Linked DNA regions of Homo sapiens: region 1 is linked to region 2. Evidence: promoter capture Hi-C in 16 types of primary human blood cells and fetal thymus (Javierre and others, 2016). All regions are on one chromosome and are shown on one strand. Each heading gives the region's core, a stretch centred on a gene start or on the middle of the fragment in contact. The rest is flanking DNA. Distances are from core to core; before and after follow the strand shown. Region 1 overlaps LOC105373883 (a long non-coding RNA gene). Region 2 holds the start of CNPPD1 (cyclin Pas1/PHO80 domain containing 1).

Evidence for each region. The method cuts DNA at HindIII sites, captures the fragments that hold promoters and counts their contacts. A CHiCAGO score of 5 or more calls a contact.
Region 1: a fragment that was not itself captured here is called in contact with the fragment with the promoter of CNPPD1 in region 2 in 2 of 17 cell types (erythroblasts and M2 macrophages); the score reaches 5.3 in erythroblasts.

Annotation. Positions count from the first base shown.
Region 1 is chr2:219,363,771-219,368,950 of GRCh38, forward strand. LOC105373883 (a long non-coding RNA gene) reads right to left here. Exons shown (of 2, transcript XR_923917.3): 1 at 4,581-5,180. Among named protein-coding and RNA genes, the nearest start is that of DNPEP, 22 kb to the right of the region's middle. The HindIII fragment of the contact is 3,139 bases long and covers 406-3,544 here.
Region 2 is chr2:219,172,780-219,178,351 of GRCh38, forward strand. It overlaps CNPPD1 (cyclin Pas1/PHO80 domain containing 1), which reads right to left and starts at 4,146. Exons shown (of 8, transcript NM_015680.6): 1 at 3,981-4,146; 2 at 3,444-3,552; 3 at 2,812-2,893; 4 at 2,209-2,329; 5 at 1,999-2,127; 6 at 1,367-1,428; 7 at 571-688; 8 at 1-349. The coding sequence starts at 4,049. RETREG2 (reticulophagy regulator family member 2) reads left to right here and starts at 5,496. Exons shown (of 9, transcript NM_024293.6): 1 at 5,496-5,572. RefSeq lists silencers at 3,768-4,062, 3,901-3,960, 4,081-4,290, 4,361-4,410, 5,401-5,480 and 1 more and an enhancer at 5,191-5,572. The HindIII fragment of the contact is 4,554 bases long and covers 3,096-5,572 here.

The DNA.
Region 1 (5,180 bases), core at 725-3,224, 190 kb after region 2:
GCTCTCCCTTGCATTTAGGATATGTGGATCCATGGTCCTCTGCATCTGGCTTTCCTTTGTCAAGGCTTTCTGTTGTTGTTCATTTTTGTTTGAACATTTCAGTCTTTCCTAAGCTGTCAAATAAAGCAGCAGAGAAAGGGTGGTCTCTATTGCCTGGAAGTTGAGAGTTCAGTGTAGACTAGTGCCCCTTTGGGGCTGGCCTGGGGAAAACAAGGGGATTTCCCTGGAGAGCACGGCTGACCCTCCCTCTCATCTCTTCTCGCCTAGGGCCACTCTGGGAGCTTCTGGAGTTTATTGGGCAAGAAGGGAGGGCATTTCTTTACTTCTAATAATCCAGTCATCTTAGGAGCCACTCTTTTCCTCTTTCCATTTAGAATATTTCTGACACCAACTTTTGTGTTTAGAAGCTTTTATGCTTTTTTTTAAAAAAAGTATTTTTACCTTTTGATTATGAAAGGTAATACATATGAACAGAAGTAGACAGAATGTAAAGATACAGCTCAACAGATTTTCAGAGTGAATAGCCATTTATACTATCCAATAAGAGGGTTCAGGACATGCCACCCAGAAACATGGCACACTGGCATGTTGAATATTTTAAGCTGGAAGGATCTGAGAAACAGCATGTGCAGGACAATCTCTCTGACTTCCCTGATCCTTCTCTCCTGAAGGGATCTCCCTGATCCTTTCCCCATGTGAAAGGTGTCCTTCCTCCAAAGATGGGGACACAGACAGGAATCTGAACACATGGGCCTTGTTAAGTCTTTTGGGTAAATAAAATTAGTTTTAAGATTGTTGGCAGGCTGGGCGCAGTGGCTCACACCCCTAATCCCAGTGCTTTGGGAGGCTGAGACAGGAGCATTACTTGCGCCCAGGAGTTTGAAACCAGCTTGGACAACATACTGAGACTTGGTCTTTACAAAAAGTTTAAAAAGTAGGCCGGGCTTAGGGGCTCACGCCTGTAATCCCCGCACTTTGGGAGGCCGAGGTGGGTGGATCACTTGAGGTCAGGAGTTCAAGATAAGCCTGGCCAACATGGTGAAACCCCGCCTCTACTAAAAATACAAAAAATTAGACTGGCGTGGTGGCAGGCGCCTGTAATCCCAGCTAGTTGGGAGGCTGAGGCAGGTGAATCCCTTGAGCTTAGAAGTTCAAGGCTGCAGTGAGCTGTGTTCACACCACTGCAATCCAGTCTGGGCAGCAGAGTGAGACCTTGTTTATATAGATTAAAAAAAAAAAAAGCCAGGTACAGTGGCTCACGCCTGTAATCCTAGCACTTTGGGAGGCCGAGGCAGGTTGATCACAAGGTCAGGAGTTCAAGACCAGCCTGACCAACATGGTGAAACTCCGCCTCTACTAAAAATACAAAAATTAGCTGGGCGTGGTGGTACACACCTGTAATCCCAGCTACTCAGGAGGCTGAGGCAGGAGAATCACTTGAACTCAGGAGGCGGAGGTTGCAGTAAGCCAAGATGGCTCCATTCCATTGCACTCCAGCCTGGGTGACAGAGCCAGGCTCTGTAAAAAAAAAAAAAAAAAAAAAAAAAAAAAAAAAAAAAAATTGTTGATAAAATAAAAGCAGAAATGTCTTTGGAGTTGTCAGCATTAAATAGAATGCAGAACTACAATTTTATTTTACCTGGGTTTACTGGTCAAACAATGTTATATCAACTAGATGTTTAAGGTTATAAAACTATAAATCTAAACTAAGAATAAAATATACAATAAAAATAAATTGCTTGATGCATATCAAGCATAGCAGTTTTTAAAAAAAGACAGAGAAGAACCATATATTTAAATTTTTAGGTTTTTTGCTTCTGTTATTTTTTTTTAAACAGGGTTTAGCTTTGTTGCCCAGGCTGGAGTACAATGGCATGATTATGGCTCATTGCAGCCTCAACCTCCCAGGCTCGAGCAATTCTTACCACCTCAGCCTCCCAAGTAGCTAAAACTTCAGGAGAATGCCACCATGGACAGACAATTTTTGTATAGATGGGGTTTGGCCATGTTGCCTAAGCTGGTCTCGAACTCCTGGGCTCAAGGGATCTGTCCACTTCGGCATGCCAAAGTGCTGGGATTATAGGCGTAAGCCACCATGCCTGGCCATTTTTTACACTTACCTGATTTGTCAACAAGAAAAATAACTTGAGATGATGGCTAGCTTTGTTTGATGTTACAGTATGTCTGCCTGAATCAGTTTCCAAATCTTATTTGGTAACTTGCAAACTTAAAGTTAGGTTAAATTAAGCAGTAGATATTCATTAAATGTCTGAACCATTTGTAAGTAAGATAAACTACTGAAACATTAACTACTAAGCATAAATTTAAGCGTATATACTTCTGGCATCTTATTTTTATATGATATAGAGAAGCTAAATATATTTGGGTCTACTAATAAGCATGTTCTTTGCCACACTGAAAGACTGTACTATATTAGGAAGCATATGTTCCTGAAATTATAAAATAGTATATTCATAAATTTACTAATCTACTACAAGATGCCGATATATGACAGGCAGTTCACAATTGCCTGCTTCCTAGTTTTCACAGCAAATTAGGGTCACTAAGGGTTAAAACTTATAATAAGTATACATAAATAAAACAATTAGACATCATAGGATGGAGGGAAACAACTTTGTATGCAAAGTATGCAAGGTATGAAGAAATTATTATTATTATTATTATTTGAGACCGAGTCTTGCTCTGTCACCCAAGCTGGAGTGCAGTGGCGCGATATCGGCCCACTGCAAACTCCACCTTCCGGGTTCAAGCGATTCTCCTGCCTCAGCCTCCCTAGTAGCTGGAATTACAGGCACATGCCACCATACCCAGCTAATTTTTGTATTTTTAGTAGAGATGGGGTTTCGCCATGTTGGCCAGTCTGGTCTCCAATTCCTGACCTCAGGTGATCCGCCCGCCTCGGCCTCCCAAAGTGCTGGGATTACAGGCGGGAGCCACTGTGCCTAGCCAGCCGTGGGTTTTTCATAGATGCCTTTATCAGGTTGAGCAAGCTCTTTTCTATTTCTGAATGTTGAATATTTTTATTATGAAAGGGTTTGGGATTGTACCAAATGCTTTTTCTGCATCAATTGAGATCATGTGGGTTTTGCTCTTTATTCTATAATATAATGTATTACATTAATTAATTTTAATATGTTGAAGTAAACCTGCATTCTTGGGATGTCCACTTTATTATAGTACATTACCAGCCTGGCCAACATGGCGAAACCCCATCTCTACTAAAAATACAAAAATTAGCTGGGCGTGGTGGTAGGTGCCTGTAATCACTGCTACTCAGGAGGCTGAGGCAGGAGAATTGCTTGAACCTAGGAGGCAGAGGTTGCTGTGAGCCAAGATTGCGCCACTGCACTCCAGCCTGGGCAACGAGTGAAACTCCATCTCAAAAACAAACAAACAAAAAAAAAACCAAATTGCCACCTTTGTCATAAACCAAGTATCAAATATTCATTTGTCTCTGTTCTATTGGTGAGTTTTATTCTTGAACCAAGAATATACTATCTTAATTTCTGTAGTTTTTATAATAAGCTTTGACAACAAATAAGGCAGTTGTCTTCTTCGATTCTTTTTTAAAAAAAATTTTTAAGATACGGGGTCTCACTATGTTTGTCAGACCGATCTCTAACTCCTGGGATCAAGCAATCATTTCATCTCAGCCTCCCAAGTAGACAGGACTACAGGCACGCACCACTACACCCAGCTCAAATCTTGGCTATAAAAAAGTATCAGCTTGTCAACTCCCACACAAAAAGAAGAAAAGCAAGGAGGAGGAGAGAAACTGTCGGTATTTTTATTAGAATTGCACTGAATCTATGTATCAATTTGGAGGATAACATATTTTACAATATTGAGTTTCACATCATGAATAAGAGATATCTTCCAAATCATTTGGACCTTCTTACATAAAATTTTCTCTATAGAGGCCGGGTGTGGTGGTTCACATCTGTAATCCCAGCACTTCGTGAGGCTAAGGCGGGCGGATCACCTGAGGTCAGGAGTTCAAGACCAGCCTGACCAACGTGGTGAAATCCCATCTCTACTAAAAATACAAAATTAGCTGGGCATGGTGGCACATGCCTGTAATCCCAGCTATTTGGGAGGCTGAGGCAGGAGAATCACTTGAACCTGGGAGGCGAGGGTTGCAGTGAGCCAAGATCACACCATTGCACTCCAGCCTGGGTGACAGAGCAAGACTCTGTCTCAAAAAACACACACACACACACACACACACACACACACACACACACACAAATTTTCTCTGTAGAGATCTTGCATAACTTTATTGACAGATACTTGATTTTTATGCTTGTAGAAGTAAACCTTTTAAAAATTTCGTTTTCTACCCATTTTTTATTGGTATGTAGAAATAAAATTGATATTTGTATGTTGATTTTTCAGCCAGCTGTATTGATAAACTCTCTCATTACGGCCGGGTGCAGTGGCTTACACCTGTAATCCCAGCACTTTTGGAGGCCGAGGCAGGCCGATCACGAGGCCAGGAGATCAAGACCATCCTGGCCAGCATGGTGAAACCCTGTCTCTACTAAAAGTACAAAAATTACCTGGGTGTGGTGGTGTGCACCTGTAGTCCCAGCTACTCGGGAGACTGAGGCAGGAGAATGGCTTGAACCTTGGAGGCAGAGGTTGAAGTGAACCAAGATCACACCACTGCACTCCAGCCTGGGTGACAGAGCGAGTCTCGGTCTCAAAAATAAATAAATAAATAACTTATTAATTCAAATAGTATAACTTTTGGATTTTCTACATAACAAATAATATAAAAAGAAAGTTTTATTCCTCCCTTTCCACCTTTCTTTCATTCCTTTTCTTGTTTTAGTACATAGCTAAAGACCTAGAGTAAAATGCTGAATCGTAATAGAATAGCAGACATCCTTATCTAAAAATCTCAGAAGAATTCTAACTTAGTTTCAGTTTTCCCAGAAGCAGACCCGGAGACAAGGATCTGTGTACAGGAATTTACTGGGAGGTGAAGGAAAACATTGGTTGGGGAGTGGGAAAGGGAGACAAGGAAGGGAAGGTGGCCAATAGAGGCATGTGTTATCAGGCTTATCTCTGGAGCAGAATTCTGCTGGGGGGACTCTGGGAGCCAGTGTAAACTACATGCCTCAGAGTTCTCTCACCCCAGATGGGAGGGAGCTGTG
Region 2 (5,572 bases), core at 2,896-5,395:
GGGAGTCTCTCTGGAGCTTCTGGCAAAGGTGGCAGTTATGAAGAAGAGTGGGAGGGGCAGGGGGGTCTGGGGGAGGCAATGGTGGAGGAGTCAGTGAGGCCAGAAGACTGCCCCAGAGTGACCGCAGCCCCATGCTGCCTTCCAGGCAGCTGGAGACATTAGCGAGAGACGGCAGGCATTGTGGCACAGAAGGTATGCAGGGCTCCAGGAGGCAACGGGAGGTCAGTCCAAGGTCAGGCGGCCCAGGTGTAGGGATGCAGGACAGCCCCAAAGACTGATGTATTACGGCCACCGATGCCACAGCCAGGGCCACACTGCTCACATATGCCACAGCTAACAGGCAAGACAGCTGCAGGAGAGGAGATAAGAAAGAAGGAATCTGTCTTTAACACATTCACCCCTTGTCTCTAGAAATCTGTGTTCCAGTTGGAGGTCTCTATAGCCATTTACACCCCACTCTGCCCATCTATTCCCAACCCCATCTCCTGGGCTTTTCAGCAATCACTTCACACCATCCCACCCTACACACCGGCCTGCTCAAGCTCCCTATCCTTCCGAGCCCCTCCTCACCTTTACCAGCCGCTGGCAGAGGGAGCCCAGGGCCAACTGCCAGGTCGGCTGCTCCAGCAGCACACACAGGTCTGTGTAGGTGTACCAGCCTCGCCACCGTCCCTGCTGCTCAGCCACACTGGGGGAAGTGGAGAAATGACAAGAGTATGCAACTGTCCTGCAGCCAGCCCAGTGGCACCCTCATACCACTCAGGACCCACCAGGAAACACTGGGAAGCCTGTTAAACCCAGATTCCTAGGCTATCTGCTGATCTAGAAACTAAGGGTGAGACCAAGACCTATATTTTATTTATTTTTATTTATTTATTTTGTTAAGACAGGATCTTGCTGTCTCCCAGGCTGGAGTGCAGTAGTGCAATCATAGCTCACTGCAGACTCAACATCCTGGACTCAAATGATCCTCTTGTCTCAGCCTCCTGAGTAGCTGGGATTATGGGTGTACACCACTGCATCTGGCTAGTATTTTTTTCTGGTAGGGTCAGGCATCTTGCTATATTGCCCAGGCTGGTCTCGAACTCCTGGACCCAAGTAATCCTCCAGCCTCACCCTCCCAGAGTGCTAGGATTATAGACATAACTACCATACCCACCCAATACATGTATTTTAAATAAGCTGCTTCTCACCTTCCCAAAGGTGATGAAGAAGAGGACAGATGGGTCTGGGAACCACTATCTGGGCAATTCTCTTTCTTGTCTCCTCCCTCCCCCAGTTACACAGACTCTCATCTCTAGCTCCTATGGCTGAGGACTCAGCCCCCAAATCCCTCGAGCCCTTCTTCCCAACTCCTAGAACCTACCAGCTCTCCAACCAGCTCAGCACCTCAAAGATCTCCCGAGGGTCAGTGTAGAGATGCCAATCCTGTGAGTACGGAGAGTGGACATCAAACCAGACTTGGATGAGCCACAGTCATTTAATAATAAGAGCCATAGCAGCAACTACAACCGCCCCTATGGCTAATGCATATTTGGCACTTACCATGTGCCAGATACTGTCTCAAAAGTTTTTACACATTAACTCATTGAATCACCACCTGCCTGGTTTCACATTATACTCTCCACTAAGCAAGAGGGGAGAAAATGACCCTGAGAATGGTCTGTGTCCACAGGGAGCTAAACATCTAGGGGCAGAGAAAGTATGGACACAAATATTCAGAACCCAATAGGATAAACTCTGACTCAGAGTGTACCCTGTGGGGCCCTGGAGGAATAGAGGAGGCGAGGAAATGTTCTGCTCTTGGCCTTACTGCTCTACGAATCTCCAAAAACTGGTTAGTACTGAAGAGATAGGAAAGGAAGACACTAACACAAAGGCAGGAGGAGGACAGGAAGAGAAATGACGAACCAACAGAAGACTGAGAGAGAACAAAGGACTAAAGGACGGTTAAAGATGGGCCAGGGAAACTGAGCAAGAGAGAGAACAGCTGCTCACCATGGCACTCAGGAAGCCCCTCTCCAAGGCATTGAGAGTGGGCACGGCCACACCCCCAGCAGCTCCCCATTCGTCGTTGAAGACCTCCTCCTCCTCCCCTTCATCATAGAGGTACTTACTGGCCACCATCTGCAGAGGAACCAGAAGTGGTGGAGCAGAGCTCATAGCAGGCTCTTGGCTCTTTAGGGAGATGGGGAGGGGGTGTCTTACCATGGAGATCAGGAACAAGTCAGAGGATGACACATGCTGCAAGTAGTCTGGGTTTCGGTGCCGGAGCCGTTCAATGTACACCAGAGCCAGCATCATAGCACATGGGGAGATGCATGCCTCCCTGGGTGGTAGAAAGGATCACTAATTAAACCCAAGGGTCCTTCAGCTCTTGCAAGTCTTATGATGCTCGTTCCTGTCTTTACCTCTTATCTTTGGAAAAAAACTATTCCTGGCTGGGCACGGTGGCTCATGTCTGTAATCCCAGCACTTTGGAAGACCAAGGTGGGTGGACTGACACCAGGAGTTTGACACCAGCCTGGCCAACATGGTGAAACCCCGTCTTTACTAAAAATACAAAAATTAGCCAGGGGCGGTGGTGTGTGCCTGTAGTCCCAGCTACTGGGGAGGCTGAGGCACAAGAATCACTGGAACCCAGGAGGCGGAGGTTGCGGTGAGCCGAGATTGTGCCACTGCACTCCAGCCTGGGTGACAAAGTGAGACTGTCTCAAAAAAAAAAAAAAGAAAGAAAGAAAAGAAAGAAAAGACGATTCCCCTTTCTCTAGGGCCCAAACACTCTCATCCTATCCTCATTTCCAGGCTCACCGGGACACATGAGCTACATATTTCTTCTGGAGTCGGCGAATAGGGCTGGGGGCTGCCTTCTGGAGCAGTTCGACAGCAATGTCTGCAAGGGACAGAAGGAAGGCCGAGTGAGCAAACAAGCACCCACACCCAACACACCAGTCCCCACTGCTAGCAGAAGACCCAGATCTGTATTTTCTGAGGCCTTGGGGACAGGACCATAGTAACAAAATAGAGATCAAATTCTCACACACTGAGACAAAAAGCCCATTCCAAGTTCGAATTTCAGCTCATTCTAACAGGAAAGCTTATTGCCCTGTCACATCAAACTATCCAGATTTATCTGTCACTGCTGTTCATCTGTGGCATAAACATGCCTTGTTTACTTGGGGAACATATGATGGATATCCTTCGAAAATTAGCTTTTCAATATATAAATCAAGAGTGATTTGTATAGATATATGTGGCAGCAATGTTTTTTATTCATTTGGGCTAAAAGAATGGGAAATGCAAACTGCCCTCTTGAACCAAGTACCAACGAGCTAGCAATGAAGAGACAGTGTAGCCACGGGGCAAACCTCGAGCCATTTTCTGCCTGATGACAATCCCATTTTCATGCTTCTCACTTGTCCAGTCACACAACACTGCCTAACCTGCCACCGGGCTGGAGAGCTCCTCCAGGCTACAGTCGGCTTCCCAGTCCCAGCCATAGTAGAGCCTCCTTCGGATCCGGGCACTCAGCTTCTGGTGTCCTGGGAGGAACTGAAACAGGGCAGGGGCAGCGGAGGGTGAAGGGCACGGAAAGGTATGATGCAGATCCTGGCTCTGGGCTGGAAGGCGGGGCAGGGGACAGGCCGGCCTCGCTGCTAGGGGGCCCGTGCCTTACCCAGACCCGCGTTCTGTAAATCGCTTGCCAATGGCAGCCTGGTCCATAGAGGGAGGAATGCCCCCACCCCCATCGAGGGTTCCCCGGGAGAAGTTCTCCGAGAAGGGCCCTCGTGTGGCCACCCCTACGCCCATTCCTATACTCCGCGGCTCTCCCTCCCGGCCCAAGCAGCCGCGGCCTCAAGGAAGCACTGCTCGAGCAGCTGCCGCCCAGTCCCGGCACAGCAGTCAGGCGAGCTCGCAGCGCCGCTCAGGCCGGGAGGGGCGCGCCGGGAGGCCGGGGAGGGGGCGGGACCCCCACTCACCGTGAAGTCCTGGAAGCCGGCGAGGGAGAAGGTGCCTTCTTCGTCCAGCAGGAGCCCGGTCAGGTCCATCGCGCCGCCAGTCGCCGCCCTGCGAAGGTGAACGGAAGGAAACGAGTTGTAGGGGGCTCGCGGAGCTGTCCTTGCCCGCCTGTCCACCTGCCAGCCTGCCTCCCCGGGGCGGGCCGCCGTCCTCGCCCTCGCCCTCGCAGCTCCCTCCCCCCGGCGGCGGAAGGCGGGGCCCGGGCTGAACTGGGCGCCTCTTCCTGTTCCGCCCCGGGCTTGGCGCGGCGCGCGGGGGCCCTAGGCCCGGGAAGGGAGGTGTCAAGCGTCCGTGCGACGCTCACCTCGCGGAGCAGAAAGGAGATGCGGCTGCGAGGCGCGTACTCCGCCTGTGCCGCGTCCGCCCGGCGTTTACAAGCCGCGGGGGTGCCGCCTGCAAGTCAGCGCCTGGCACTTCCTGCCGCCCATCTGGCCCAGCCTCCCGCCCCGACCCGCGGGCAGGAACCGGACTCGAACTCCTGGTCTCACGGAACGTGGCCAAGCCCCAGGCGCCTCTGAGAAATGGGGACAATTCGTAGGGGGGACCACGCCGCACTGAGGATGAACAAGCCAGGCGTAGCAATGGAGAAGTTAATGTGAATAAGACGAAACGCACAACAGGAAGTTGTTCCCAGTTGCTTTTTAGGAGAGATATTATACATACTCAGCAATGCATATGAAAAGCGTCTGAAAGGACACACAGGAAATTTAGCAGTGGGTGAACTATGAAAAGGAAGAGAAACTCAGGGTGTTTTTTTTTTTTACTGTAATTTGAACTTTTAAACCTAAGGCTACTGAGGAAATTCTGTGATCTTAAGCGAATGTAAGGCCTCAAAACGTGTCAACACGTCCACCCAAAAGTAAACTGCATCTACCCAAGGTTTTGTGTTGAAACCCACCTCCCGCCTCCGATCTCATGCTTGAGTAGGCCGAGGTGGGAAGAAGCTCCGATATGTGGAAGTGGGAAAGTTTAAGGAGATAGGAAAGAAACAACTTTTCTGAGTAGATGTTGTTTTCGAGTCTGTCGAGTCAAGCGCTGGTGTGTGTTTGTTTACCCACTGAGGGGAGGGAACTGGGAGGACCAGTGCGTTGAGGGTTGGTTGAGTAATGGGACGGCCACCGCCCTTCCCGAGCGAGCAGAAGCAGACCCTACCGGGGATACTGGGAATCTGGAAGCCCACTTCCTGCCCCACACGGGGATACCGGGGCAGCACCACACTCCCTAGCCGCCCTGCCTACTGTGGGATAAGAAAACGGGCTCGACTGCCTGGACCTAGACCCGGACTCGGAACCCGGGGTACTTCGTCAACCAGAAAACGAACCTGTGTAGGCGCAGTGTCAGCGGCAGCCGCCGGGGCGCATGCGCGGCCCGCCCTATCCGGGGGGGGGGGGGTTAGGCCGCGTCACGTGACGGGCTCAGCGCTCCGCAGTCACGTGACGCTCGTCCGCAACCTCTGCTGTCCTCCGCGGCGCCCCCTTCCGCCTGACGCGCCCCCGGCGGCGGCCGCGCAGCCCTGGCTCCTCGCGGGCTCGGGCGGCGGCTGCGGCGGGGC